Linked DNA regions of Homo sapiens: regions 2, 3 and 4 are each linked to region 1. Evidence: promoter capture Hi-C in 16 types of primary human blood cells and fetal thymus (Javierre and others, 2016). All regions are on one chromosome and are shown on one strand. The core of a region is centred on a gene start or on the middle of the fragment in contact, and the rest is flanking DNA. Distances in the headings are between cores, read along the strand shown.

Region 1 (6,759 bases), core at 2,215-4,714:
AACAAAAATGTTTTTAAATTAGCAGGGCGTGGTGGCACATGCCTGTGGTCTCAGCTACCAGGGAGGCTGAGGTAGGAGGATCACTTGAGCCCAGGAGGTGGAGCCTACAGGGAGCCGTGATCACACCTCTGCACTCAAGCTTAGGTGACAGAGTAAGATCCTGTCTCAAAATCTTCTTGGGAAGATTATAAAAACAAAAACCAAAGTACCTCCTCTGAACCTAGAATCAATGACACTGCAATAGGAAGAAGTACACCCAATGCTCAGATGTTAGTTTGTAATATCATTCTCCTTATAGAAATGGCAGGGGTAGAGAATACACAAGATGAGCCTGGAACATCTTGTTGTACCAGAAAGTAAGGGAATGCTCAAAAAACACAACAATGGAGGCATGCAAGACACAAGAGCCAACTGAAAGAGCTCTTAGTCACCAAAGCTGGAACAATTTGAGCAACAAAATAAATAACATAGTGTTGGGAGTATAACCCAAAGTATAAAATAATAACCATGACATCATACTAATAAAAATAAATGATTGAATAAGTAAATAAATGTAGGAGAATAAACAAATCTCCCAAACAAAAGAATTCTTCCCCTGAAACTGGTGGAGTATAGATAACTCCCCACCCCTTAAGTGAAGGCTGCACATACTGATTTCCTTCCAAAGAGAAAAGTAAGGCCGGGGGAAAAGAGTTAACTTCACAGTGAAAACACCTGACAAACACAACCTCAGGCATGCAATGAGGCTTACCATCACTACTGATAAACATCAGTGATAAATAAGTTGACAGCACATTCCCTTGACATTACATGATGAGAATGGCCCTTTACCTCTATGACCTTTCCCTCAAAAATCCATAACCCCAGTCTAATTATAAGAAAAACATTCAGGCCGGGGGTGGTGGTTCATGCCTGTAATCCCAGCACTTTGGGAGGCTGAGGCAGGTGGAGGCTGAGGCAGGAGGTCAGGAGATGGAGACCATCCTGGCTAACATGGTGAAACCCCATCTCTACTAAAAATACAAAAAATTAGCCGGGCGTGGTGGCATGCACCTATAGTCCCAGCTACTCGGGACGTTGAGGCAGGAGAATCGCTTGAACCTGGGAGGTGGAGGCTGCAGTGAGCCGAGATCGTGCCACTGCACTCTAGCCTGGACGACAGAGCGTGACCTCGTCTCAAAAAAAAATTCGACAACCCAAATTAAGACACTTTCTACAAAACCTACCAGTACTCTACAAAACTGTCAAGGTCAGCAAAAGCAATGAAAGTCAGGAACTGTCGATCTAGAGGAGCCTAAGGAGACATGTAATGTGGCATCCTGGATGAGATCCTGGGACCGAAAAAGGATATTAGGTAAAAATTAAAGAAACGCAAATTAAGTATGAACTTCAGTTAATAATTATCTATACTGGCTCGTTAGTTATGATATATGCATGATACTAATGTAAGATCTTAATAATAGGTCAAACTAAGCAAAGGGTATGGAGAACTCACTGTACTATCTTTGCAACGTTTATGTAAACCTAAAATTTCTAAAATAAAAAATATTAAAAAAAAGAATTCCTCTGGTTTGAAGTCTTTCAAGTCTGTTGCAACTATATTCCCTGGCCCAAGTTATCTATAACCTTGGTCATCTGGGAGCTTGTTAGCAATACAGAATCTCAGGCACATCCCAGATGTACTGGGCTTCTCAGAGAAACAGCCCCAATTGGGTAGTTTGGGTAATAAAGTTTTGGCTTTCACAATATAGGCTGGCCAACTCGACCCAAAACAGATGATGGTGCACATGCCTGGAGACCCAGGAGGACCTGTGGTGCAGATGAAGTCTGAGGACACTCTGCTGGAGAAGTCTCCCTTGCTTGGGCAAGAGAAGTGGGGGAGTCGGATTTTTTATTCTAGATAGGCCTTCAACTGATTGAAGGAAGCCCACCCAGATTATGGAAGGCAGCCATCTTTACCCAGAGTTCAATGATTTTAGTGTTAACCTCATCCAAAGACAACCAGCAAGTTAACACATAAAATTAACCATCACACCAGATCTGCTGAATCTGAATCTACATTTTAAAAGGATTTGCCAGGTGACTCTGCATAATCCAGTTTGAAAATTGCATTTTTCTACAACCCTTAGAGAGTGTAAAAATCTACATGGTAATTCAGTAACTCAGAAACAAGGCTTGATTTGCTGCTTTAACTTGAGAACTTTTCTAGCATTTACTGATCTGGAGGTAGGGATGCCTACAGAAATCCTCGCCCTCCCTTCTAGGTAAAGGACCCTCCCCTTTGTTCTCACGTGAACCTCACTAAGCTTCTAACCTGGTTTACTGAATTAGTGGCTTGTGGGTCTTCCCTGTCTACACCAAACTCTCCGAGAGCATCTACATCTTATTTTCTACCTCCACAGAGACAGCCTTTATTGGCGGATCCAGATCTGCCCTGCCAAGGCAAGCTGGGTTTTCCTAGTTTCACTTTCAGAGTCCGCAAATGCTAGCACAATCTATCCAAATTCTATCGTGGAGATAAAGCATGCACACATACATCAGAGGATTCCATAGGTCGAACCATATGAAACTACCTATGTTGATTACTTTTACCTATAAAACCAGCAACATCATAGGACTCAACAAATTTCCATTGCTGTTTTTCCGCCTAAAAGCTATTTTAGGACCAGGAGCAGTGGCTCACGCCTGTAATCCCAGCACTTTGGGAGGCCGAGGAGGATTGCTTGAGCCCAGGAGTTCGAAACCAGCTTGGGCAATATAATAAGACCAAGCCTCTACAAAAATAAAAAGTAGAAACAAAATTAGCCAGATGTGGTGGCATGCTCCTGTAGTCCCAGCTACTTGGGGGAGCTGAAGAGAATCGCTTGAGTCCAGGAGTTGGAGGTTGCAGTGAGCTGCGATTGCGCCACTGCATTCCAGCTTGGGCAACAGAGCAAGACCCTGCCTGGGAGAAAAAAAAAAAAAAAAAAAAGCTATTTTAGGGACAATATGCCGCCACAGTCACGAGGTAAATATGCCGCCACAGTCACGAGGTAGATCGTACAAAGGTTGCTAACAGTATGGCAACTGACCGCTAACAAGCGAATGTCAAGTTGTGAAATGCACACCACCCACTTCCCTAGTTCGGTCGAAGCCCTCCCCTTAATTATGTGCAATTCAAGTCCCCACTGCCCGCCCGCAAGCCCCCACTCATCCTCGCTGCGGGCAGGGTGGCCCCTGCACTTTACAAGGGGGTGCAGGAGCGGGAGACGGTCGTCCGAACACCGGCTCCCCGGCATGCGTAGACCGGCGGGCGGAGCGGGCTCACTTTGCGCCAATCCTACGAGAACTCCCAGAACTCCGCTTCCCTAGTCCAACCCAAGCCAGAGTTGCCCACACCTAAGATGGCGGCGGGGGCGGAGTCGGCGCGGCCGCCTCTGGGCGGGACCGCGGGGACTAGACGTGGCCGCGGGGCGGTGTCATCGCCCCCGCCCCGCCCGGTCCAGCCAGCTCGGCCCGGGGGCTTCGGGCTGTCGGGCCGGCGCTCCCTTCTCTGCCAGGTGGCGAGTACACCTGCTCACGTAGGCGTCATGAGGTCTCCGGTTCGAGACCTGGCCCGGAACGATGGCGAGGAGAGCACGGACCGCACGCCTCTTCTACCGGGCGCCCCACGGGCCGAAGCCGGTAAGCGGCGGGGTCGTCCAGGGGCTTCGAGTGGGCAGCGGTACCGGGGGCGGCGGTCTCTGGGCCGGCATGGCCCGGGTACCCGCACCCTGCGCCGGCGGGACCGGAGCTGCTCAGGCGCGAGGGGACATTAAGAGGGGAGCCCGTTCAGAGTGCCGCTCAGTCCCGCCTGCCTCGGTGCGCAGAAGCCCCTCGGGAACCCCGGGGGCCGCGACCGTGATCGCGGAGCCGAGCCGGGGCCTCGGCAGGTGCAGCCCCACCGGGCGGGGGCGGGGGCGGGGGCGGGGGCGGGGGAGCGGCGGTGCAGCCGGCGCTGAGCTGGTGGTTATTTTGGGTAGTGCTGAGCAAGGGACCCAGTGGAAGAACGAACTGGGAGAGAATCATCAAATGAATGGGCTAAGGTCCGAGCGGAGGACCCCGGTGTAAGAGCAAACTGGAGGAGAAACCTGCAGATCAGTAGGCAGAGGGCTGTCCTTCCCTGTCACCGCTAGGTTTCCGCCACTGCGTATCCGCCAGCATGTGACCTGGTAGCTTCTTAGGCGGGGAGGGAAGACAAAAAAGGACTGGAGTTAACATTTGTGAGTATGCAGAGGGCAACTATTGTATAACCCAGCTGATATCTTGACATTGTGCAGTAAGAGACTAAAAACATCGAGGACATTTTTTTTCCGTCTGGCAGTCTATGATTTAAGTTAGGAAAAGGTTCAGTTATCCTCAAGATACCTATGGAGTTCTAAAGTAATTTGCCAAAGGTCTTGGAACAAATCGAAAAGCAGGTACGTCATAAAGCATCTTCCCTGAATTTGAGAAAATTAAAATATTTTGCTATTTGACACTTTTGTAATATAGTTTATTTAAAAGTAACGAAAACTAAAGAACAAATCAGTTTGAATGCATTCTATAGTTTCAAAGATCTGTGCGTGAGAAAGAGTTGTGTTGGAAATTTGACTTTGGCTAACCCAGAATTGTATAGTTTCTATATTTTTATTTGTTTTTAATGTTACCAGATGGTGGCAGTAGAGGTGGCAACCTTATAGCTCCATCTGGCAGCCGGGAGCTTATTTTAGTCAACACAAACTGTAAATACCATACCATAGTTACGTTTTACCTGGAAGTCGGACTTAGTTCCATAAACTGATCATTTTCTGTGGCTTGTAGTGTTCAAATTGTATAATATTCCTCATAAAATAATATAGAAATACAGAAATAAAAGTTATAATAAAGATATTTGCCAGAGATTATTACATTGTTACAATTGAAAAATATGTATATGTATAATCAAAATTTAGCACAAATGTTAAACATTATTCTCAGGAAAATGCAGATTAAAATTACAACGAGGCACTATACACCCACTAGAATAGCTAAAATCCAAAAGGCTGATAATACCAAATGTTAGCAGAGATGTGGATAGAAAAGTTATACATCTCAATAAAGATTGAGATGGACAAATGTATACATTTATCACGTAAATTATACTTCAATAAAGTTGATTTTTAAAAAAGTAGCTTATAGCATCCCTTTTAAAAACAATCCCTACTTGATTCATGTGTTGAGTGTATGGATCTTATGGTACTGGCCCTGTCCTTCCTGGCTTTAGGTGGCTACGTTTGTTACAACCATTTCCTTTTTTATTTTCCCTCTTTACATACCCACTGGAGAGCAAGTGAAGTGGAAATAATAGTAACATACTGTTTTTGCTATTTAGAATATGATAAGTTTTATAGAGAAGGAGCATATATGGCAATTAAGAGAAGTATATAATGAGCCCCCATGTAACCAGCACCCAGATTAAAGTTATCAATTCATGGCCAGTCTTGCCTTATGCTCATACATACTGTGTATTTTGAAGCAAATCCCAGATACCATGTCATTTCATATGTAAATATTTCAATTATTTACCTCTAAAAGATAAGGACTCTTTTTAACATAACTACAGTACTATTATCACAGCAAATAAAAATAATGCTTACTCACTTTGGGAGGCCGAGGCGGGCGGATCACCTGAGGTCAGCAGACCGAGACCATCCCGGCTAACAAGGTGAAACGCCTGAAACGCCGTCCCTACTAAAAATACAAAAAATTAGCCGGGTGTGGTGGCGGGTGCCTGTAGTCCCAGCTATTCGGGAGGCTGAGGCAGGAGAATGGCGTGAACCTGGGAGGCGGAGCTTGCAGTGAGCCGAGATCACGCCCCTGCACTCCAGCCTGGGTGACAAGAGCAAGACTTCGTCTCAAAAAATAATAATAATAAAATAATAATAATACTTACAAAATACTCAGTGTTCATATTTCCTCAATTATGTCCTGATTTTTTTTTTTTTTTTTTTTTTTTGAGACGGAGTTTTGCTCTGTCGCCCAGGCTGGAGTGCAGTGGTGCGATCTCGGCTCACTGCAGCCTCAGCCTCCCCGGTTCAAGTGATTCTCCTGCCTCAGCCTCCCGAGTAGCTGGGATTACAGGCCTACGCCACCACACCCAGCTAATTTTTGTATTTTTAGTAGAGACGGAGTTTCACCATGTTGGCAAGGCTGGTCTCTAACTTCTGACCTCAGGTGATCCACCCGCCTTGGCCTCCCAAAGTGCTGGGATTACAGGCCTGAGCCACCGGGCCGGGCCTATGTCCTAATTTTTTATAGTGTGTTCAAATCAGGATCTCAATAATGTCCATACCTTCCAAATGATTGAAATGTTTTTTGTCTCTTTTAATCTGTTTCCCCTGCCCCGCTCCTTTTCTTTTCCCTGCAATTTTATATCCTTATGTTGTCCTTTAACATCTTCTGCCCTCCTGATTTACTGTAAATTGGTAATTAGTAGATCTGAAGATTTGATAGGATTATGAGTCTGTCTGTCTTAATTACCGTCATGACTATTCCATAAGTAGAATACAAGTGTAGAAAGTAGAATTGTGTCAGCATGCTAATTCTCCCATACACGGCTCTAGACACTGGAGATACAAAGAAGTAAACAAAACAGAACAAAAGCTCCTGCCCTTATAGACTTTTATATTCTAGTGTATATTTTCCTAAACTTTCAGCCCTCTCCATTTTGCTTTCTTCTTGGGTTACAATCAAAGTCCAACACTTTATTTTCTTTTTTTT
Region 2 (6,759 bases), core at 2,862-5,361, 3.0 Mb after region 1:
AAGCTGTCAGGTGGGCAGGCAGGTAGGGCTCCATCTAGGAGACCAAGAATCCGAGCCCGGAGTGGGAGGACGTGGTCACACCGGAGGGTAGAGGAGGGGATCCAGACCTAAGCGCGGCCCCACCCACAGAGATAGCTATGAGCAGAGCTAGGAGGGCAACTCTCTAACCCTAAGCTCTGCCCAGACCCGTGCCCGGTTCCGCGCTCCCAGCCTCGCTCCTACCCCCAGCCCTGTGGAGGGTCCGAGCATCGCTACCCTGGCACCTGCTCAAACCCGTGTCTGGGAGGAGGGGAGGCTGGGGCCACTGACAGGGCCTGCGGGCCTGACCTCGCCGCCGCCTCTGGCGGACTTGAGGGTCGACAGGAGCCCCGCGCCCGCCCGCTCAGCCACCCGCCCTCCAGTCAGGGCAGGAGCCGGCCAGCGAAGCCGAGGCGTCCGCTCGGGCCCCGAGCGCCGCAGCGGCGGGAAGGTCACCGGTCGCAAGAGGCCCCGACCGTGGGCAGCGACGACGTCCAAGCTACCTTTGGCCTCGCAGTCGGCGCAGTACTTGTTGTCCTCCTCCCTCAGAAGCTTGGATAGGATGAGCTGGTGCTGCTCGTTCAGCTTCTGAGCCTTCTCCCGACAGGAGCGCGTCGCCATCTCGGCAGCGGGGCGGGGAGCCTGGGGCAGCTACGGCGGCGGCGGACGCTGGCTGGAGCCGGGCAGAGTGAACGCACCTGGCGCCGCCGGGACCGCGGGCGGACTCAGCCCAGGAAGCGGCAGCGGCAGCTGGAACGGGAGGAGGGGCGGCGGCGGCGGTGGCGGTGGTAGCGCCGACGTGTCCCGCCTCCTTGACCGGCCTGCCGGCACGCACCACCCTAGCCGGCGAGGGGAGGGGGAGGGGGACTGGGTCGCGCCGAGGCTTCCGGGTGGCGCGGAGGAAGGAACCCGGGCGCCGAGCGCGCTGCGCATGCGCCGAACCTACGGGGCCCGGGCTGCCGAGTCTTTTTGCAAAAAGGCCTTCTGCCCAAGGTGATTCCCGAAAGGTAGCTGGCACTGCCTCATACGAGCTTTCCCCCCTTTTGAGATGTGATGGTCCGCAAGGGCCTCTAGTAAAACCCAGTAATGGAAGACCTTTTACAAGAAGCCTACTTTGACTTGCCCATTTGCCTTTGCTCTTGCTGGCACAACATTGGAAATGCAGAAATAACTAGCGACTGGGTGGGTTCATTTACTCATTCGAGGTTTATTCGCCTGCAGTTTAGAAGCTGGAGACACGGATGGAAGAAAAGAGGAAAAACGGTCTCTTACATTTTAAGGGCGAGAAATAATCTAGTAGTGACATGTATTAGGGGATAACATTTCATTGAGTGATTACTCTGTTAAACGAACTGTTAGCTCATTTAACCCTTTCCCCAACCTTATGATATTGTTATCCTCATTACACAGGGGAGGAAAGTGAGGCATAGAGGAGTTAAGTAACCTGACCAGATTACAGAACTACTAGTGGAGGAGTTGAGATTTAAATCCAAAGCAGTCTGGCTCCAGAGTCTGAAAGACCTGGCAGTAAGCCCTTCCATAAGGGGGAAAGTGTGACCAGGAACCCAAGTACTAGGCGGTGATACTTTAACAAGAAGCTGTGTAAATAGTGATCCTTAATGCAAGAGAAAGAGAACTAAAGAAAACACTTTTCATTGGAACCCAGACCCTAATCCAGGCTCATGAAGTTTGAACTCCGGGTGACGCAGTTTCGATGATTTGGCATGTTGTATATTATGAGGAAGTTCTAATATGGGGCTTATGCAAGCCAAATAAACACAGTCCTTGCCTGCGATGAAGCAGATGCTAAGAAAGGCAATGAGCAAGAGTCGGTCTTACACTTCTTAGTAAGGCCAATTTCTAGCCCCTGTCCCTGCATAAAAGTGACCCTCATTGCTACCTAGCCCTGTTCTTGGCACAGGGGCTCAAAAATGTTTCTGGAATTAAATTGAATGGATATGGCAATGAAGATGCTCAGTAATTAAACAAATTAGAGCTTATACTACATAGCTCTGACAAATAACTACTAGGGAGATATTGGTGAGTTCCAATGAACAGAAAAAAACATTATGTGGGAGGTAGAACTTACGAGCCTTGTCCTGAAGATACGCTGGATTTAGATGGGGACTGGGGAGGGAGATATTAAGAAAGAGCAGCTTGCACAAAAGCATGAAGACCTGAAGTACCTTGGAAAACAGACTGGAACAAAAGGTACTACTTTTGAGATAAGGCTGCATAAGTAAACTATGATAGGGTTATGGAAGACTTGGGAAGCCAGACAAAGTAGTCTGGCCTTGATGCAAATTGACAGTAGAAAACCTGTAGATTTTTGCCAGGCACAGTGGCTCACGCCTGTAATCCCAGCACTTTGGGAGGCCGAGGCAGGCGGATCACCTGAGGTGGGGAGTTCGAGACCATCCTGACCAACATGGAGAAACCCTGTCTCTACTGATAATACAAAATTAGCCGGGTGTAGTGGCGCATGCCTGTTTAATCCCAGCTACTCAGGAGACTGAGGCAGGAGAATCGCTTGAACCCGGGAGGCAGAGGTTGCAGTGAGCGGAGATCAGGCCATTGCACTCCAGCCTGGGCAACAAGAGCAAAACTCCTTCCCCACCCACCCCCCCCCCAAAAAAAGAAAAAGAAAACCTGTAGATTCTTCAAGTAGGATAATAGCATAATAAAAAGGATCTTTTGGGAAAGTTAGTCCTGCAGTAACCAGTAAACAAACACCATTTTTTGAGTACCTCTCCTCCCTACAAAAATTCTGTTCAGCACTGTGAGGACTCAGAAAAACAGAATACAGGTTTACCACCAAAAAACAACCTTCAGGATGGATTGAAGGGTCACAGCAATGTCCAGTACAAATACTTGCGTGCCACACGTATAACTTTAAATAATGCAGTAGCCACATTTAAAAACAGAAAAAGAAACATAAAATACATTTTACTAATACATTTGATTTAACTCAATGTATCCAAAATATTTTTGAGATGTAATATAAAACATGGCATATTTTCTTTCCATTCTTGTTTTCATATTCTCTTCAAAATGCTGTATAACACAGCTCATTTCATTTTGGAGTGGCTGAATTTATTTTTTAATAAAGAAATTATCAAAAAATTGAGCCTAGGAGTTCGAGACCCTGCTGGTCCATGGGGTCTCACTATGTGGGCCAGCATGGTCTTGAACTCCTAGCCTCAAGCTATCCTCCCACCTTGGCCTCCCAAAGTGCTGGGATTACAGGTGTGAGGCACTGCGCCCAGCCTGGAGTAGATGAATTTCAAATGTTCAGCAGCCACATGTGACTAGTGGATACATTATTGAATAGTGTGGTTCTAGATGGTCAGCTTAGAGGCTATTAAAATATAAATTTGAGTTGATTGTATTTTAAGACTATAGTAGGAAGAAAGAGACTGGTCCCCAAAACATCCTGGGAAGAAAACAACATTGCATTTATTCACCAGTATTTATCAAACAACTTCTATCTAGTACACTAATAATCAGAAGCTTACAGTCTACTATGAGCTACAAATATGTAAATAGAAAAGGACTACACTGTAAAGTTTATAGCAATTATAAAGTGTTCTCGGAGCAAAAGGAACAGAACATCCAGTAGCCTGGGAAAATCTGGGAAAGTTTCACGGAGGAGGTGATGCTTAAACTTGGCTTTTAACAGATGGGGGAATTTTTCAAGTGAATGGGGGTGGAGCGGAGAGAAAGGAATTGCTTTAAAAAACACGTATGGACTTCTGAAAGTTCAGGGTTATATGCTAGACATAGTGAGGATATGAGGCCCAAGAAACCTAGAATGTGTTTGGAGAACATGAAGGTAGGAAAGGAAACAAGATGGAGAGGTAGATTGCCACCAGAGGGTTAAGAGCTTTGTAGCCAAGCAACAGAGTTTGAACCTCATGGGTTTATAGAACCAATAGAAGCTTTTACACGGAAAAATGGCTTGATAAGCTTTCTTCTCAGTAACTCTCCATACAGTGGCAGTATGGAGAACATGGTGGGGAAAAACTTATCAAGGGAACAGATTACAGGCCTGTCTCAATAATAGTCCAAAGAAGATATGATGAAGGCCTATTTTAAGCAAGTAGCGTAGGGTTTGGGAGAGACAGAATCAAATGATGGTTTAAAATTAGAAGCAGCAAGATTTGGCAGCTGACTGTATGTGGAGGGCAAGAGAAAGAAGGTGAGAATAACATCAAGCTTTCTAAGTTGGGAGAAAGGTAAATGGTAATGCCGTTAACCCAGATCAAGAATAGAAGAGGTAGGCCTCTAGGTCCAGCAGTCACAGGGCTGAGCCAGCAGCACTAATCCTCCCAGTTCTCCATGTGCTCAGCTTCCTGCTCTGCAACCATGACACAACAGGCGATCTCCTTTGCCAAGGACCATCTGGCTGGTGGCATTGCTGCTGCTGTCGCCAAGATAGTTGTGGCCCTGATTGAGCAGGTGAAGCTGCTGTAGCAGATGCAAGGCGCTAGGAAGCAGGTGACAGCTGACAGCAGTGCACAGGAATTGTGGACTACTTTCTTAAGCAAGCCCTCAACATCACATTCAAGGATAAGCAGACACAGCTATTCCTGGGAGTATGGATGAACACACACAGTTCTAGAGCTGTTTTGCCCACAATCTGGCCTCCAACAAGGCGGCCAGAGCCACCTGTCTCTGTTTTGTGTACTTGCTGGGTTTTGCCAGAACCCATCTGGTGGTCAATGTTGGGAAATCGTACACAGAGCTGGGATTCAGGTTCAAAGACCTAGGAGACTGTCTGGTGAAGATAAGTAAGTCTGATGGGATCTGGGGCCTGTACCAGGGCTTCAGCATCTCTGTGCAGGGCATCATCCTTTTCTGGGCAGCCTGAAGGCCTAAGGCATGCTCCCTGACTCCAAGACCACCACATCATGGTGAGCCAGATGATTGCCCAGACTGTGGTGGTGCGGCCAACATGACCTTCTACCCATTGGGCCCTGTGCAGACCCAAAGGAGCCAACATACTGCACATGGGAACCCTCAATTGCTGGAGGAAGATTTTTAAGGAGGAAAAGGGAAAGCCTTCTTCAAGAGTGCATGGTCTAATGTTCTCAGAGATATGGGAGGAGCTTTTAGGCCTGTCCTGTATGTGGAATTGAAGAAGAGTAAGTGTGTTTCCTCACTAGAAATGAAAACCAAGAGAATCATGTAGCATACTTAACTGTTATGGACCACTGACCTTTGAGAAATTTCATTTTCTTGGTCCTGGCCATAGTACCTCTGTAGAGGACTAGAGAAGGCTTTAGAAAAGGGGTTCACCATGATCATATTCAACCATTGGCACCCTGAATCCACGCATTGATTACTGGCGATAATTATGACATCACCATGGGTCAACAAACAAGGCAGCTCCTTCAAACAGACCTGTAGTCCAGGCACTTGTAGAACCCAAGTTGTGTTTAAATATTTATTTATTTATTTTGTATTTATTTATTTTAGTTTTTATTTTTTTGAGATGGAGTTTCACTCTTGTTGCCCAGGCTGGAGTGCAACGGCACAATCTTGGTTTACTGCAACCTCTGCCTCCCAGGTTCGAGCGATTCTCCTGCTTCAGCCTCCCTAGTAGCTGGGATTACAGGCACCTGCCTCCATACCCAGCTAATTTTTTGTATTTTTAGTAGAGATGGGGTTTCACTATGTCGGCCAGGTTGGTCTCGAACTCCTGACCTCAGGTGATCCACCCGCCTCAGCTTCCCAAAGTGCTGGGATTACAGATGTGAGCCACCATGCCTGGCAAATATTTATTTTTTAAAAAGTCATGTCTCCCATTTGTATTTGAGCACTATCTCCTCTTTTGCATAGCCAAATATTTGCAATCATGTTGTATGTTGGGCATTCTTCTGCAAAACAGTAAAAAGAGGACACTGAAAAAACAAGAAAGAACAAAAGAGATAGTCCAGATTTGGGGTCGGGGAGAAGCAGCATTTGCTTGGGGACATGTTAAGTTTAAGATGTGCCTAGGACATCCAGCTTCATGTGTCTAATGAGATATTGTATATTGACTTCTAGAACTCTGGAGAGGAGTTACTGCTGGTAAAAGTCATTTGGGAATTATTTGCATTTAAAGGGTCATAGAAGCTGTAAAGATGGATGACATTCCCCCGGAGAAAGCACATAGACAAAGGAGAGGAGAGACCTAAAGACAAAATTCTGGGGATTGCCTACTAAATGAAGAGTGGACAGAGAAAGGTGAACCATTGAAAACAGTGGAGAACCAGAAGCCAGGGAAGGAACAGTTTTGAAGAAGAAAGGGTGAACACCAACCAATGCCAACTATTCCAGAAAAGTCAATTATTTCCATTTTAGACAGTACATACAGCATGTGGTCATGGGTCTGCACAGTTCATTGTTTTCTTTCATAGCTCAAGAACAAGAGAAGATAAATCATCTGATGAGACTTCCAAAGCCTGTGATTGTCTGGAGGGTTCCATGAAATATTGAGGGAGGGATGGGGACGGTTAGAAGGGAAAAAAGAAAAAAGGTACAAGGATAGGAAGCAGTGCTAGAGTTAACTATTGAGTGTAAAGTAAGGAAAGTGTCCAAAGTGTGTGTGAGAAGTGAAGTAGGAGCAAGCAATGATTATAGGTTTCTTTGAGGCCAGAGGTGATGTGGTATGGTTAGGAAAAGGATGCGGACAGCTAAATGAAGAGAAGTGCCTAGTGACACCTCTCAGAGGGGTGTAGTAACTTGTCCTGATGAACT
Region 3 (6,759 bases), core at 2,096-4,595, 2.4 Mb after region 1:
CTCCCGGGGCATCTCCCAGCTGAGCGGGATGAGGGATCCCGCCCAGCTCCTGGAGCTGAGGACTGGCGTGGACGTGGTGTCGAAGAGGTGTCACCGTCAGCAGGCGGGTCCTGTCCACACCCCCTCCCCCTCTCCCTGGTCCAGGAGGAAGACACTTTAGCTGCAGCAGAGGACAAAAGCTGATGGTGCCGGGCACCATATAAACAGGAAATCCCAGCTGCCACAACTGTACTTAGGGCAGCCACCTAGAGTCCTTGTGGTCTAGAAAAAGTCAGAGCTATCAGTCACCTCATCTAATGAGCAATCGCTCGTGAAACAAAAGGAACAGTAACAACTGGACCATCACATTGATTTGCGGGTAACCTTACACCCACTACAAATTGGTGCTCCGTGTAGGCAAAAATCTCAGAATCAGTAGAACAGATGGGCTGTTTCTAATGGAAGAAGCCTCGGCCCTGTGGTCTGTTCTGCAAATGAAAGGAGGAGGGAGAACTGTGTTAGGGAAGTTCTTTCTTTTTTCTGTTCTGTTCTGTTCTGTTCTGTTCTGTTCTGTTCTGTTCTGTTCTGTTCTGTTCTGTTGTTCTGTTCTTTCTTTTCTTTCTTTTTGAGACAGAGTCTCCCTCTGTTGCCCAGGCTGCAGTGCAGAGGCGCGATCTCGGCTCACTGCAACCTCCGCCTCCTGGTTTCAAGCAATTCTCCTGCCTCAGCCTCCCAATAGCTGGGATTACAGGCATAAGCCTATAGAAGTACGTAAAGATAAGGTAGTATTATCAAATATGTGACCCAGAGAAAAGTGACTGTTGTAAAATGTGTCTTCTGGCTTTCTAACTAGAAGGGAAGCCTCTTTGCAGGCAGCCCCCGTCTGAAAGTGTGTCTGTATTTACAGTGCTGTCAACTTGGTGGATGCTCAGTAAACATTTGTTAAATATGGACTAAGAAAGATGAGCTAGATATTTGAAGATTAAACTGTTGAACTTGGAATGAATAGTTTCTTTTCAAATGTTTCATGATGAAGTAGGAAGCCAAATCATGTTAGATGGACTGTTTCTAAGGGAAGAATCAGGTAAACCAGCTGCCTATTCCATGGATAAATCAGGATTACCTAAGCTCTTCATGCACTGCAACAAGACATCTAGGCTGTAGCTCTGTCACTAATCAGTTTCTGACTTTAAGTAGGTCACATGAACCTAAACTTCCTCATTTGTAAAATGAAACCAGATCTCTGGGAGCCCTTCCAGCTCTGACCTTCTGTGATCCTATGACTGGGAAAAGCTCTGAAACTAATAAGAAATAGACACGGGGTGCACAAAAAGACTTTTGGGGCCGGGTGCGGTGGCTCACGCCTGTAATCCCAGAACTTTGGGAGGCCGAGGCGGGCAGATCACCTGAGGTCAGATGTTCAAGACCAGCCTGGCCAACATGACGAAACCTCATCTCCACAAAAAAATATAAAAATTAGCCTGGCTTGGTGGCGGGCGCCTGTAATCCCAGCTACTTGGGAGGCTGAGGCACGAGAATCACTTGAACGCGGGAGGTGGAGGTTGCAGTGAGCTGAGATCAGGCCACTGCACTCCAGCCTGGGCGACAGAGTGAGACTCCATTGCCCCCACCCCCCGCCAAAAAAAATACTTTTTGATTATAATGGCTTAGCAGAAGAAGATGTGGGGCAGCCACATACCACAGGAATCCAACTGCTCAAAGCTGGGAATTCGATTTTCCGTTGGTAGAAGACCGGAACACATTGCAGAAGTAGATATTGTCCATCCAGCCTTAAGTGTTCCGAGATTGTTGATGTGGAAAGTCTAAGGATAGTTGTTGTGTCCCAGGCGCTCCATCTGTTGGTTTAGGTGTATGTAGATTAAAGTTGGCCACATGTTCTTTGCTCTCTTCCCATTGAGAAGTAGTCTTATTCCTTACTCTTGAAGGAGCTGGCCTCAGTGACTTGCTTAACTATAGAATATGAAAGAAGTGATAGTCCAGGATTTTCTAAGTTAAGCCATAAGGAACCTTGCATTTTCCACTGGGTCTCTTGGAATATTCTCTCTGTTAGCCCCATGCTGCCATGTAAAAAGTTCAGCTAGCTTGAGACTGCCATACTCCTAGAAAGGCCACTTGTGTGTGGCCTCTGGTCATCCTCTGGTCATGGTACCAGCTGAGGCCTACCTTCCAGTATCCCCTGCTGGATTCCACGTTTTTGTTTTTTTTTTTTTATTGAATCCTCCAGACCAACCCATCCACCATCTGAATACCTTTCAGTGACCTCCATCGACCCTACTTGGAATAAAGGGACTACCCAGCAAAGCCCTGCTCAGATTTCTGACCCACAGAAGAGTGAAATGCAATAAAATGGCTGTTGCTTTAGGTCACTAAATTTTGTAGTAGTTTGTTATACATCAGTAGATGATGGAATGGTGAGAAGTATCTGTGTTTGTGCATATAAACATTTAAGTAACTACTGCAATTAAATCCTTCCCTTTTACACCACCTTTTGAAAAATGTGTCAATTTTTATAGGACCATAGATGATATGCCAGATTTTGCAATATATTTTCTAAAGAACATAATTTTACATGAAGCGTAACACCAACCTTATATAATATTTAATCAATTTTAAGTTTAGAGCAATAAGCACGACCACATTGTGCCCAATCTATGTGTTATTTTTACAAGTTAATGCTGAAGTTCTGTCATCCCAAGCTTCTATACACAGGAATTATCCTTCTCGAATACCTAAACTTTTTTCATTATCCCTGCCTTGCAGAGTATTTAACATTCCTGCATCAACAGTAAAGAAGGGTACCTTTGCTTCATATAAAAATCATCACTTAGCTCAGTGCCAGGCATCTATTAATTTATCAATATATGTTAGCTGTAATGATGATTCATTCAATATGTCTTTAAAGAACATATAATTCAACAGTAATATACACATGTATGGAACAAGGAGAAACTATTATCACAATGGACTATAATATAGTTTCTGACTCCCTGTAAATAGAATCTGCTCTAAATTAAGCAGATGCTATAGCCATGCTTCAATATAACTCTGTTTTCAACTTCGTTATGAAATCCTTTAAGGGTGAGGCCATTTTACAAAGGACAAAGAAACTGGTGCTTCAGGAACTAAACTTTTTTGGATGAAACCCAAATGTATCTGGCATATCTTGAATTGTCTTTTATAGTCAATCCTGTTTTAGGGACATTAACAAAGGTTTATTATTACATAATTTGAGAGTCTTTCAAATAAAAGGAAAGGGCAGATCAAGGGCCATTTTCCCCAACCTCAGGAGTTAACTCCTCAGTACCTCACAGGAACCTGAAATCTTTGGAGGAAAAAAAAATAGTATTATTTTAAAAATTAAAAATAATAAAGATGGCTCTCTAAAGAAACATCTGAAATTAGTAGTAACATGCTGTAATATTATTTTCCATTGACTGTAGCCAAGGGCCTCTGCTAGCACCCATGAGAACTTTGTGTTCTTGAGAATAAGACACCTTTGCTCCAGGGCTTAGTGAGCAGGGCCTGAACTGGAGTTCCCTCCCACCACCTTAACTGAACTCTTCATGCAGGACACAGCATGTACAACCTCACATAGAGTTCCTGACCAGACAAGACTTGCTGGAAATTTCCCAGGATCTTCCTTCCTTAAGGTAGGAGTTTATAATAGGTTATAATTTATGAAAACAAAATATTTTTTCCTCCTTCCTCCCTGCAAATATTCTATACTTTTTGTATGATTCTGAGATATCTTCTCCTGTATCCTTGCCAACCACTAACATCACCATAGCCCCTCTTACAAAAATCTTTCTTTCTTTTTGGACAATGCAATTGTGCAATTCAGTGTTTTTCTGCATGTTTCTTTTATCTTTCTAAGGCTTGTTGCAAAAATATCTCTGCTGTCCATTACCTCTTCCTTAATATTCTTTCTTCTTATTCTTCTCAAAGAAATGACCAGCAATTAAAGCAATTCCTGTATACCAAAAACAAAGCTTTCAAGGTTGTTTTAAATGGGATACAGAAATAAACACACATACGTCTAATTTCAACTAAACTGAACTTGTAGTAGCAAAGAGATTTCTGCATTTTTTTTTCTTTTGAGATGGAGTCTCGCTCTGTCACCCAGGCTGGAGTGCAATGGCTCAATCTCAGCTCACTGCAACCTCCGCCTCCTGGGTTCAAGTGATTCTCCTGCCTCAGCCTCCCAAGTATCTGAGACTACAGGCATGCGCCACCATGCCTGGCTAATTTTTGTATTTTTAGCAGAGACGGGGTTTTGCCATGTTGGCCAGGCTGGTCTTGAAACCCTGACCTCAGGTGATCCACACAGTTCGGCCTCCCAAAGTGCTGGGATTACAGGTGTGAGCCACCGCGCCCAGCCTGCATTTTTTATTATAGATATAAAGGGTCAAATATTTTACTATCAAATATTGGTAACAAATGAATTGAATTCCCTCACTGGCACCTAAACTGCTGCCAAGACTCTTCTGAACCCGTGTGGTCTTCCAAATCTTATATATCAAATGTATCAAAAAATAGCAGGATATGTTGTGTGTGTACTGCTGGGGTTGTTTATTTGTTTGTTCGTTCATTCATTTTTGTTATTCTCACTTAATTTTTTTCATCAGCATCCATCATGGGAAGCCACCTTGCCCTAGGGAGAGCTCCTGACCTAGGGTCAGGAATATATTAAGGAAGACAGCAATTAATACATTCAAAAATAATAATAATTACAAATTGTAAGTATAATGCAGGCAAAGTGAGATCATGGGGTTTTGGCTTTACTCTGGGAGTCAGAGAATTTCTCTGGGGAGGTGACATATAAGGGAAGAAATGAAAGACAGGAGAGAAATTAGCCTGACAAAGAGCAGAGAGAAGAACATTCCTGGCAAAGATATTGGCATGGACAAAGGCCCCAGGCAAGAACAAGATTAGCCCCTACGGCCAGAGTGGCCAGAGAACAGGTGCGTGAGGTGTGTAAGGGACAAAGCAGGCCAGGGCATTTGATTTAAGGTTTTTGGATATTGGTTCATTTTTCAAAAACCAATCTTTAGCCTCTTTCATCAAAAGCAACCCTGTTTTCATTATTTCTGGTAGTTCTTTTTGTTGGTTTTATTATTTCTTGGTAAAGTAACAGATAGGAAGTAGATGACGGACCTGGCTGCATGTGTCAGGTGCCTTTGCAGCCTTTTCCAGGCCACTGGAGCATTGCTAATACACCAAAGCAATAACGTATTGCATTTCATGGAACCTAAGAATCATTTATTCTCAAATGCATCTTATTTCAGAGATATTTAAATGTAAAAACTTGTACATTCTAGAATTCATGCATTATGGTTTGCTGAAAGAGAATGTTTAACTTTACAGAACTAATTTATTCCTAAGAAATAGTTTACAATTCAAAGGCCAACTCTAAACTCATAACTGATACTGAGTATTTTCACAGCTTAAAGACTTTTTTTTACCAATCGCACTAAAGTTGTTAATAAAGCAAAGGTAAAAGGTCCATAGAATGTATGAGTGTTGAATTAGTGCATAATAACATATCAGTGGAGCTAAGTTGAAATTAATATAAGAATTCAGTTAATCATCATTTGCATAAATTCAGCCTGTAGACTAAAAATAGGGCCATATTTAAATTTTAAAAATAATGACGTGTTCAAATACAATGTTTAGAGTTCTTATTTGGATAATTCAGCAGCATTTAGACCATATTTTGATATAAAAAATAGTATAAATACTATGAGATATAACATATTTGACTTCAAAAAAGAAAAGAAAGAAGAAATTTTGCCCCTACCCTCCAAAATTATTGCTTATTTTCCCTGAATAAAAATAGATATGTATTCCACAATCTTTTTTTCCCAATTATTATATTGAGTATGTATTCCTATTTTATTTAATTTTTATTCTTGATCCTTGAAATTTATCTGTTCTGAAGCATTACAAGTAACGGAATAAAAAATGGATGAGTAAACACACTGGACTCTCCCCTGGCTCAGAAGGGCACTTGTCATTAAATCTGTAGCCAAGGAATATGTGATTCTTAATGGGTTTCCTGCAGCCTTCCTTGGAGTTTCTGCCTTCTCTTTATCTTATAAAAGGACCCCAAGGGCAGTTGGCAGGGATGGGTTTCCTCCAGGCTCCTCTGAGTGCAGATGATTCTGAGGATACATCACAACCAGAAGTCCTGCTGTCACTGGGTCTTGGGACATACCACAGGGGATACCGGTAGATGCATTTGGCACTTTATCCTAAAACCTAATTGCAGTCTCAGTGCACCAGAGGAACCAAATCATGTTCCTGCCCAAAGAAAAGTCCAGGCTGCTTAAGCCTAAACCAACCCCAGACTCTGGTCTGGCCTTCCATGAGATGGGTGTGCTGTTTTGGGGATGGGTAAAGACTAATTCCTTATAGACTGTCAGCAACTTCATTAGGAGAGAACTGAGGTATGGCTATAGGTGTCAGGGAGAAATACAATTAATCCAGATGCCCATCTCTTCAAAGATAGGGGACATCCTATCAAGCAACAATTGTTTCTTCCAGGCTTCATAGCTTACAATTACCTTTAGAAGTGTGCCTGGAGAATAGATTTGCCTTAATTCAAAACTTTTCTTTCATGGCCAATCATCTGTTGTACCCAGTTTCCAAGTCAGCCCTAATGATCTTCACTTCCTGATATTCAGTCCCCTCCCATACTGAATGCGTGTCCTATGTGACCAGTAAAATGTGGCAGATGTAACGGCATGTAACTTCTAAGGC
Region 4 (6,759 bases), core at 1,269-3,768, 2.3 Mb after region 1:
GTGGGCAAAATTCCCTTAAAAAACTCCCAACACAACACCAACCAGAAAGAGAAAAAACTGGTAATTTGGATTATAATACCAAGAACTTCTGTTCATCAAAAGACAACATTAAGAAAATGAAAAGGCAAAATATACCAGAGGAGGTATTAGCAACACATATAACAAACAACTTATATCCAGTATATATAAAGAATTCCTATAAATTAATTAGAAAACACAAGCAACCCAGTAGAAAAATGAGCAAAGATTTGAACAGATAATTCACCAGAGAGGATATGTAGATGATCAATTAACATAAAAAGTTGCTCAACCTTATTAGTCATCAAATAAGTGCAAATGAAATCACAGCTCAATGGCAAGACACAACTACTAGAATGGGTAAAATTAAAAAGACAAAAAAATCTGGTATTGGCAAGGAGGTGGAGTAACACTGCAGATGAAAGCATAAGTTGGTACAGCCACTTTAGAGAACTTCTTAGTGGTCTCTACTTACGCTGAACAGATCCATATCCTGTGACCCAGTTGCTGTTACCTACCTCACAGAAATTTGCACAGTGTTCTTCAGAAGAAATGAATAAGAATGTTCATAGCAGCACTATTTGTAATAGCCCCAAATCAGGAATTATCCAAATGCCAACAGTAGGATTCGTAAATTGTGAAATATTCGTACAACAGAATACTATCTAGCACTGAGAATGAATGATTTGCAACTTCTGATATAAGTGCATCTCACAAACATAAAGTTGGACAAAATAAACCAGACACTGAAGAGAACATACCGTATGTTTCTATTTACATTAATTTCAAAAACAGGCAAAACTATAGTTATCTATGGTGATACATATCTATGGTGACTCATGCACTTTTCTGATTGTATGTTATACTTTAATTAAAAGTTTCTAAAATTAAAAAAAAAAACGCTGTATTATCTGGTCTTAAATAAGGCAGGTAAAACTCTTATTCCAGCAGTCACTAAGAGAAACTTTATCCCAGATCATCTTTCTCTAAAAACATAGCAACAGCACATATCTTGAGGAACGTTCTCTGAAACTGGCATAAAAGATTACGCTATCCATAAGCAAAGAGACGTTTCAGCAAACATTCTCTTTTCTCCAAAATACTGCAGTGTATACTGTCTTCTAGAACATCACTTCCCTCAAAAGCTACCAGTCCACCTCATTTTCTGGCAAGTAACGAAATTACTGAAAGATGAGGAGAAAAAAGGCTGATGTTAAAGGGCATTCGGCTGTTGCCATGTTGCTGCATTGCCTCACTTACCCACGTTGTAAGAAAGAGGTCAAAACACGGTTAACTGGCTTACCCAGGGTTATATAGGCTCTCGGTAGAGCCGCAGGAGGACTGAAGGAGACACTGCCAGCTTCTGACTCTGATTCTTTAATCTTTTCTATAGTCAGGTAACCCAGGATTGGGACAGAAAAACATAAGCCCTCTACTATCATATTTGTTGAATGTAAGATTTCCTCAGAATCAAGAATATGAATAGATTATGCACTTACTGTTCATATTTTTAATTTCTAGAATGGCTATTATGATTAGTTTTTGCTTTTTCTTTGGACAAAAGAATTTTGTGGTGCTAAAAGTGTCTTTTAAAATTTCCTTTTATTATGGAGAAAAAAAAAAGCTTTGTCCGGACACCGGTGGCTCAAACCCCTAATCCCAGCACTTTGGGAGGCCAAGGCGGGAGGATTTCTTGAGCCCCGGAGTTCAGGACCAGCCTGGGCAACATAGTGAGACCTTGTCTCTACAAAAAATGAGAAATGAGGCAGGTGGATCTCTTGAGCCTGGGAGATCGAGGCTACAATGAGCTGTGATTGTGCCACTGCATTCCCACTTGGGTGACAGTGAGATCTTGCCCCCCCCAAAAAAAAGAAAGAAAGAAAAAGTTTCAACCAGCCTGAACTAAGAAACTTTAAAAATATTCAACCCAAACTCAAAAACCGTGATTCCTTCAGCAAGGCACGTATGCTAACAAAGTCCCCTTGAAGCGTCTCTTCTGGAGACAGTACAGTCCCACAGTAGTGTTTAGAAATGTGTGCAGTGTGCAGGCATTTTTGCTTGTCACAGTAACTGCAGAATGCCACTCCTATGAGGCTTGGAATAGTCTCATTCAACAAGAAATAGTTTTGAACAAAATAACAGTGCCCTCACCAGGATGAACATTCTTAAAGTTATCATTTACTTCTAGGAATATTTGAACTATACATACATTTATGTCTTCAGTTTAACACATCTCTGTAGTATACTAGTTTGCATGTCTGAGATAAATATGATGGTCTGGATGATCTTAACCACAATTAAAGAATAAAAAATTACCTTAAAACTGACTTTTTAAATGCCCTGTGACTTTAAAGTGTCTAGAAACATTCTGTAATTTTGAATTCATCAAAAGCTTTGTCATCAAAAAGCCAAGTATGGCTTTAAAATACTTCTTTTTGGCCCAGGGAGAAAAATACTTTTTATTTTAACCTCCAAGTTTCATCGAGTAGATTAGTTATTTCTGTAGTTTGGTAATGCCCATTATTTGAGAATCTGATAACATCCAGGACTTCACCATATAATTCAGTCACTTGAAAGCCGTGAATTTCTGGCTGTACTAAAAAGCTTTCAACACTAGGGTTAGGTGTTCCTATGAAGACAAATAAAATTCCACATTTTTAAAAACCACCTTTGGCCGGGCGTGGTGGCTAACGCCTGTAAAATCCCAGCACTCTGGGAGGCTAAGGTGGGCAGATCACGAGGTCAGGAGATCGAGACCATCCTGGCTAACATGGTGAAACCCTGTCTCTACTAAAAAAAAAAAAATACAAAAAATTAGCCAGGCATGATGGTGGGCGCCTGTAGTCCCAGCTATTCGGGAGGCTGAGGCAGGAGAATGGGGTGAACCTGGGAGGCGGAGCTTGCAGTGAGTGGAGATCCTGCCATTGCACTCCAGCCTGGGTGACAGAGCAAGACTCCGTCTCAAAAAAATAAAAAAATGAAAATAAATATATAATAAAAACCACCTTTGAATTTAAAAATAGTTTTAATGTTGGAGCTAGCCCAGTTGTATGAGTGTGCTGAAGAAGCCAGTCTCTGCTTGCCTTCCTATAGCTCCAATTAGACATTTTTAATTACAGTGCAATCGCTGCAACTATTCTGGGCCATTTCAACCCATCCCACTCCACGAATACTCAGCTCAGTCTTAGCATTGGACATCAGTAGCAAGCAACTAGATGCTCCCACCTCAGGAAGCTTCTAATTTTGTGGGGACTACCCCTGTTGTGCTTATTGCTAAACTTATACTTCAGTGAACCTTTCAATTCTACATAATATATTCCAACTCATTTTGTGGAATCTGATTTTTTTTTTTTTTTGCTGACTTTCCTTTCACAGGTATTTAGTAAGTCAATGACGGGCAGCAGCAAGCCAGGCTTCTATTATAGTAATAATAATCAGATAACCAATAATCACTGAGGATTCTGTACATTCCAAAGCCATGCCAGGGGTCAAGAGCAAATACTTAGTGTCCTTACTATGTACAGGGCACTATTCTAAACATTTGGCTTATATTAACAGATTTAATCCTCACAGTTCAATATGCATGAACATTATTTTTCAGATGAGGAATCTGAGATGAAAGAGATTAAGAAAACTGCCCAAGGTTATGCTAACGAGCCTTAAAACTGGGATTTCAGCCTAGGCAGTGTGGCACCAGAGGTCTGATCATGACCATGAAGTGATAAACACAAGTATCCTCTAAGTTAGGTATCATCGTCTTAATTTTCCAGGGCAGGAAACTGAAGTTGAAGGATTTAAGAAAATGTGGTAGTAACTGGAGTTGTTTATGAATCTTCCCGTTCTCCTCTGGCACATGAGAAGATTGTGATACAGGATTTTTTGCTCCTTAGTTTAGCTAAATCCAGTTCTTGTCTTACAACCAGGAAAAATTAGGCACACAGAGACATCGAAGACTGAGGAGGATGGAATTTATTAAGTGAAAAGAAAGCTCCCAACAAAGAGAGGGGTCCTTCATGCAGGTTTCCACCTCACAAAAATTGAATGGCAGGCCACCACACGTGAGTTGAAGAGGCCAGGCTCTTTCCCCTCATAATTCATGAATTCCTGGTGGCTCCACCCATTCTCCTAGTGGTTGTGGGGCATGCCCAGACAAGCCCCCTGTGCTGGCTCCCATATCTGCACAAAGCATCTGGTGTAAAGACTTGTGGGTCGGGTTGGAGATGTGGCTGTGTCCTGCCTCTATCAATTGCACTTCTCTACATCTTCTGAGGTTAGGTGTGGCTGTGTGACTTGTTTTCATCAATGAAATGTGAACAGAAGAGCCAGGGAAGTATTAAGAGCTTGTGTGCCCTTCCTTCTGTGTTGGTGAGAGGTTTTTCAAGACGGAGGCTTTGTCACCTTGATCCTTGAGTGACTAGACTGGATAGTGCCCCTCTGCTGACTGCTGTTGGACACATTGGTTAATTGATAAACTTCTGAGATTCAAGGCAGGGTTGGAGGAAGGAGACTATTTGTAACCACACGTAATCTTGTCTAACTTAATTTGCCTAAATATCTTTCACACACTCTTAAGCTTGTTGGTGCCAGGTATTTATCTGGAATCGAGGGCTCTCTGACTTAACAATCCATGGTTTTTTCATTTATTTCCTCTCTTTTGGTATCATATGACCTGCAGGAACCCAAATTTCATTCTTTTGCTTGCCTTTTAATTTTATGATAGTAATGAAAGTGCCTAAAAAATTCAATCTGATGTCTATGGTTAGTCTAAGATTAAGATTAAGAAAATGTAGAGGAAAAATCTGTCATTCTCTGGCCTACATGTTTGGTCTGGAGCTTTAATATGATGATCTGCAGGATTAGGAGAAATTTTCCTGGCTTGCTTAATCCCGAGATTCAAGTTCTAGCAAACAACCGTCAGCAATAATGTTAGCTAAAGAATGCTAATATGTCCTAAATGTTACTCATATTTCTCACTGTGCTTATAGTTTTCATGGTGTGAGCTGCTACAAGAGTTCACCCTTTTTTAGGTTGTCACTCAGACATTCTGTAAAGTAATTCCATCATCCATATATATATATATATATATATATATATATATATATATATATATATATATGTATGTATGTTACTGAAACGCCATGGGTTCATCTGGGTCCTGCCGCTTGCTGCACAGAAAGCCAGTGACTGAGACGAAGAGTACTGCCAAGGAAGAAGGCTTTAATCTGATGCTGCAGCCAAGGAGATGGGAGCTCAGTCCCAAATCCATCTCCCTGACCAACTAAAACTAGGGGTTTATATAGCAGGGTCTTCCCTGCTATGTAACAATGTGTAAGAAAACAAGAACTAGAGAGGAGGGGTAACGAAGCAATCATGATGAATGAAGGGTCTGGCATCTCATTGTCTGGATGTGGTGATCTGGTGAGTTTCAGTTCTTTAATTTTCTTTTTCTTTTGAGAGGTCTGAATGTGGTTTCCTGAGGAAGGAACTCTGATAAAACAAATGTAAGTTTCAAATTTTAAAACCAGATGGGCAATTTCTATGTTTATCCAAAAAAAACTGTCTAGGGGACTATTGGGTCGGTTTCATATATATATAAAATCACTTTATGTACACAACACCAAATTATCCGGGTTCATATGTTTAAATTTAGAATTGTGGGGATTTCCCAATCTACCAGCTGAGTATGCTCAACAGGTTAGCTGGATAGCATTGACTATCATGACAGTGAACAACAGAGAATCACATGCAACTCTGAGTCTTTCCTGAGGAGTATCTTCCTGAAACTAAATGAATAGAAGATTCTGAGAACCTTGCTTTTTCCATTATTTGATTATGGAATGACCTATGGGGCAATACATGTTCATGTAATATGGAAAAAACAAAAAGAAGGCTTTAACCGCTTAATTAGCAGGCCTAATTTTTTAGAGTTGGGATTCTCTCTTTCTTTTACTTGCTGAAAATTGACTGTTTGGTTACTTTCACTTTATAAGTTTACTTTATTCATTTAATCACAAAATTCCTAAGCATTCAGTGACTCATAAAGTAGATTATTTGTTTATAATCCTGCCTCATTCTAGAAATGACTAAAGGCAATAAAGTTATGTTTAACCTTGGCAAATATTGGTTAAATGATACTAAGCTAACTTTTTTGGGATGAACTATACAGTGAATAGATTATGTAGGATTGGGATGTTTTTATTTTAATTTAGAAATAATTATAGATTTATAGGAAGTTGCAAAAATTGTTTGGAGAGATCCTATGTACCTTTCACCCAGGTTCCCCCAGTGGTCACATTTTACAACATTTGCTACAGCACAGTAGCAAGACCAGGAAACTGACATTGGTACAATTGTGTGTGTGTGTGTGTGTGTGTGTGTGTGTGTGTGTGTAGTTCTACACCATGTTATTACATGCATAGATTCTTGTAACCACCACTGCAGTTAATATACAAATTAGTATACAGATTACTTTTGCTATATCATTTTTTTCTAAAATCTAAAGACATGAAACTTTTTTGAATCTTAAAGGGATGAAGCCCTTCTTGGTGACTTGAACAGCATCATCATTTTCTGTTGGTAATAACAACTAGCAAATAAAGCTTAGATGAAACTTACACTCCTGTGTAAAGTGTAGCTCTTCCAGTAGGTCCTGTGTTTAGTCTAATATCTACTTAATTACAGTAAGTGTTCAGGCTTTTTGTTGTTCTATTTGTTTTGCGAGCAGGGATTTGATATAAATCT

The links. The method cuts DNA at HindIII sites, captures the fragments that hold promoters and counts their contacts. A CHiCAGO score of 5 or more calls a contact.
Region 2: a fragment that was not itself captured here is called in contact with the fragment with the promoter of SLC17A5 in region 1 in 1 of 17 cell types (naive CD8 T cells); the score reaches 6.7 in naive CD8 T cells.
Region 3: a fragment that was not itself captured here is called in contact with the fragment with the promoter of SLC17A5 in region 1 in 2 of 17 cell types (total B cells and naive CD8 T cells); the score reaches 6.9 in total B cells.
Region 4: a fragment that was not itself captured here is called in contact with the fragment with the promoter of SLC17A5 in region 1 in 1 of 17 cell types (total B cells); the score reaches 5.5 in total B cells.

The regions. Positions count from the first base shown.
Region 1 is chr6:73,650,697-73,657,455 of GRCh38, reverse strand. It overlaps SLC17A5 (solute carrier family 17 member 5), which reads left to right and starts at 3,464. Exons shown (of 11, transcript NM_012434.5): 1 at 3,464-3,663. The coding sequence starts at 3,570. RefSeq lists an enhancer at 2,260-2,349 and a silencer at 3,349-4,018. The HindIII fragment of the contact is 4,556 bases long and covers 2,309-6,759 here.
Region 2 is chr6:70,661,904-70,668,662 of GRCh38, reverse strand. It overlaps SMAP1 (small ArfGAP 1), which reads right to left and starts at 780. Exons shown (of 11, transcript NM_001044305.3): 1 at 522-780. The coding sequence starts at 639. It also overlaps the pseudogene SLC25A6P6. RefSeq lists silencers at 39-98, 219-448, 599-998. The HindIII fragment of the contact is 249 bases long and covers 3,987-4,235 here.
Region 3 is chr6:71,281,751-71,288,509 of GRCh38, reverse strand. It overlaps LOC124901339 (a long non-coding RNA gene), which reads left to right. Exons shown (of 6, transcript XR_007059640.1): 4 at 3,570-3,650; 5 at 4,626-6,759. Among named protein-coding and RNA genes, the nearest start is that of OGFRL1, 3.7 kb to the left of the region's middle. RefSeq lists a silencer at 1-46. The HindIII fragment of the contact is 1,293 bases long and covers 2,699-3,991 here.
Region 4 is chr6:71,365,340-71,372,098 of GRCh38, reverse strand. No RefSeq gene overlaps it. Among named protein-coding and RNA genes, the nearest start is that of MIR30C2, 8.3 kb to the left of the region's middle. RefSeq lists an enhancer at 3,553-4,752. The HindIII fragment of the contact is 212 bases long and covers 2,413-2,624 here.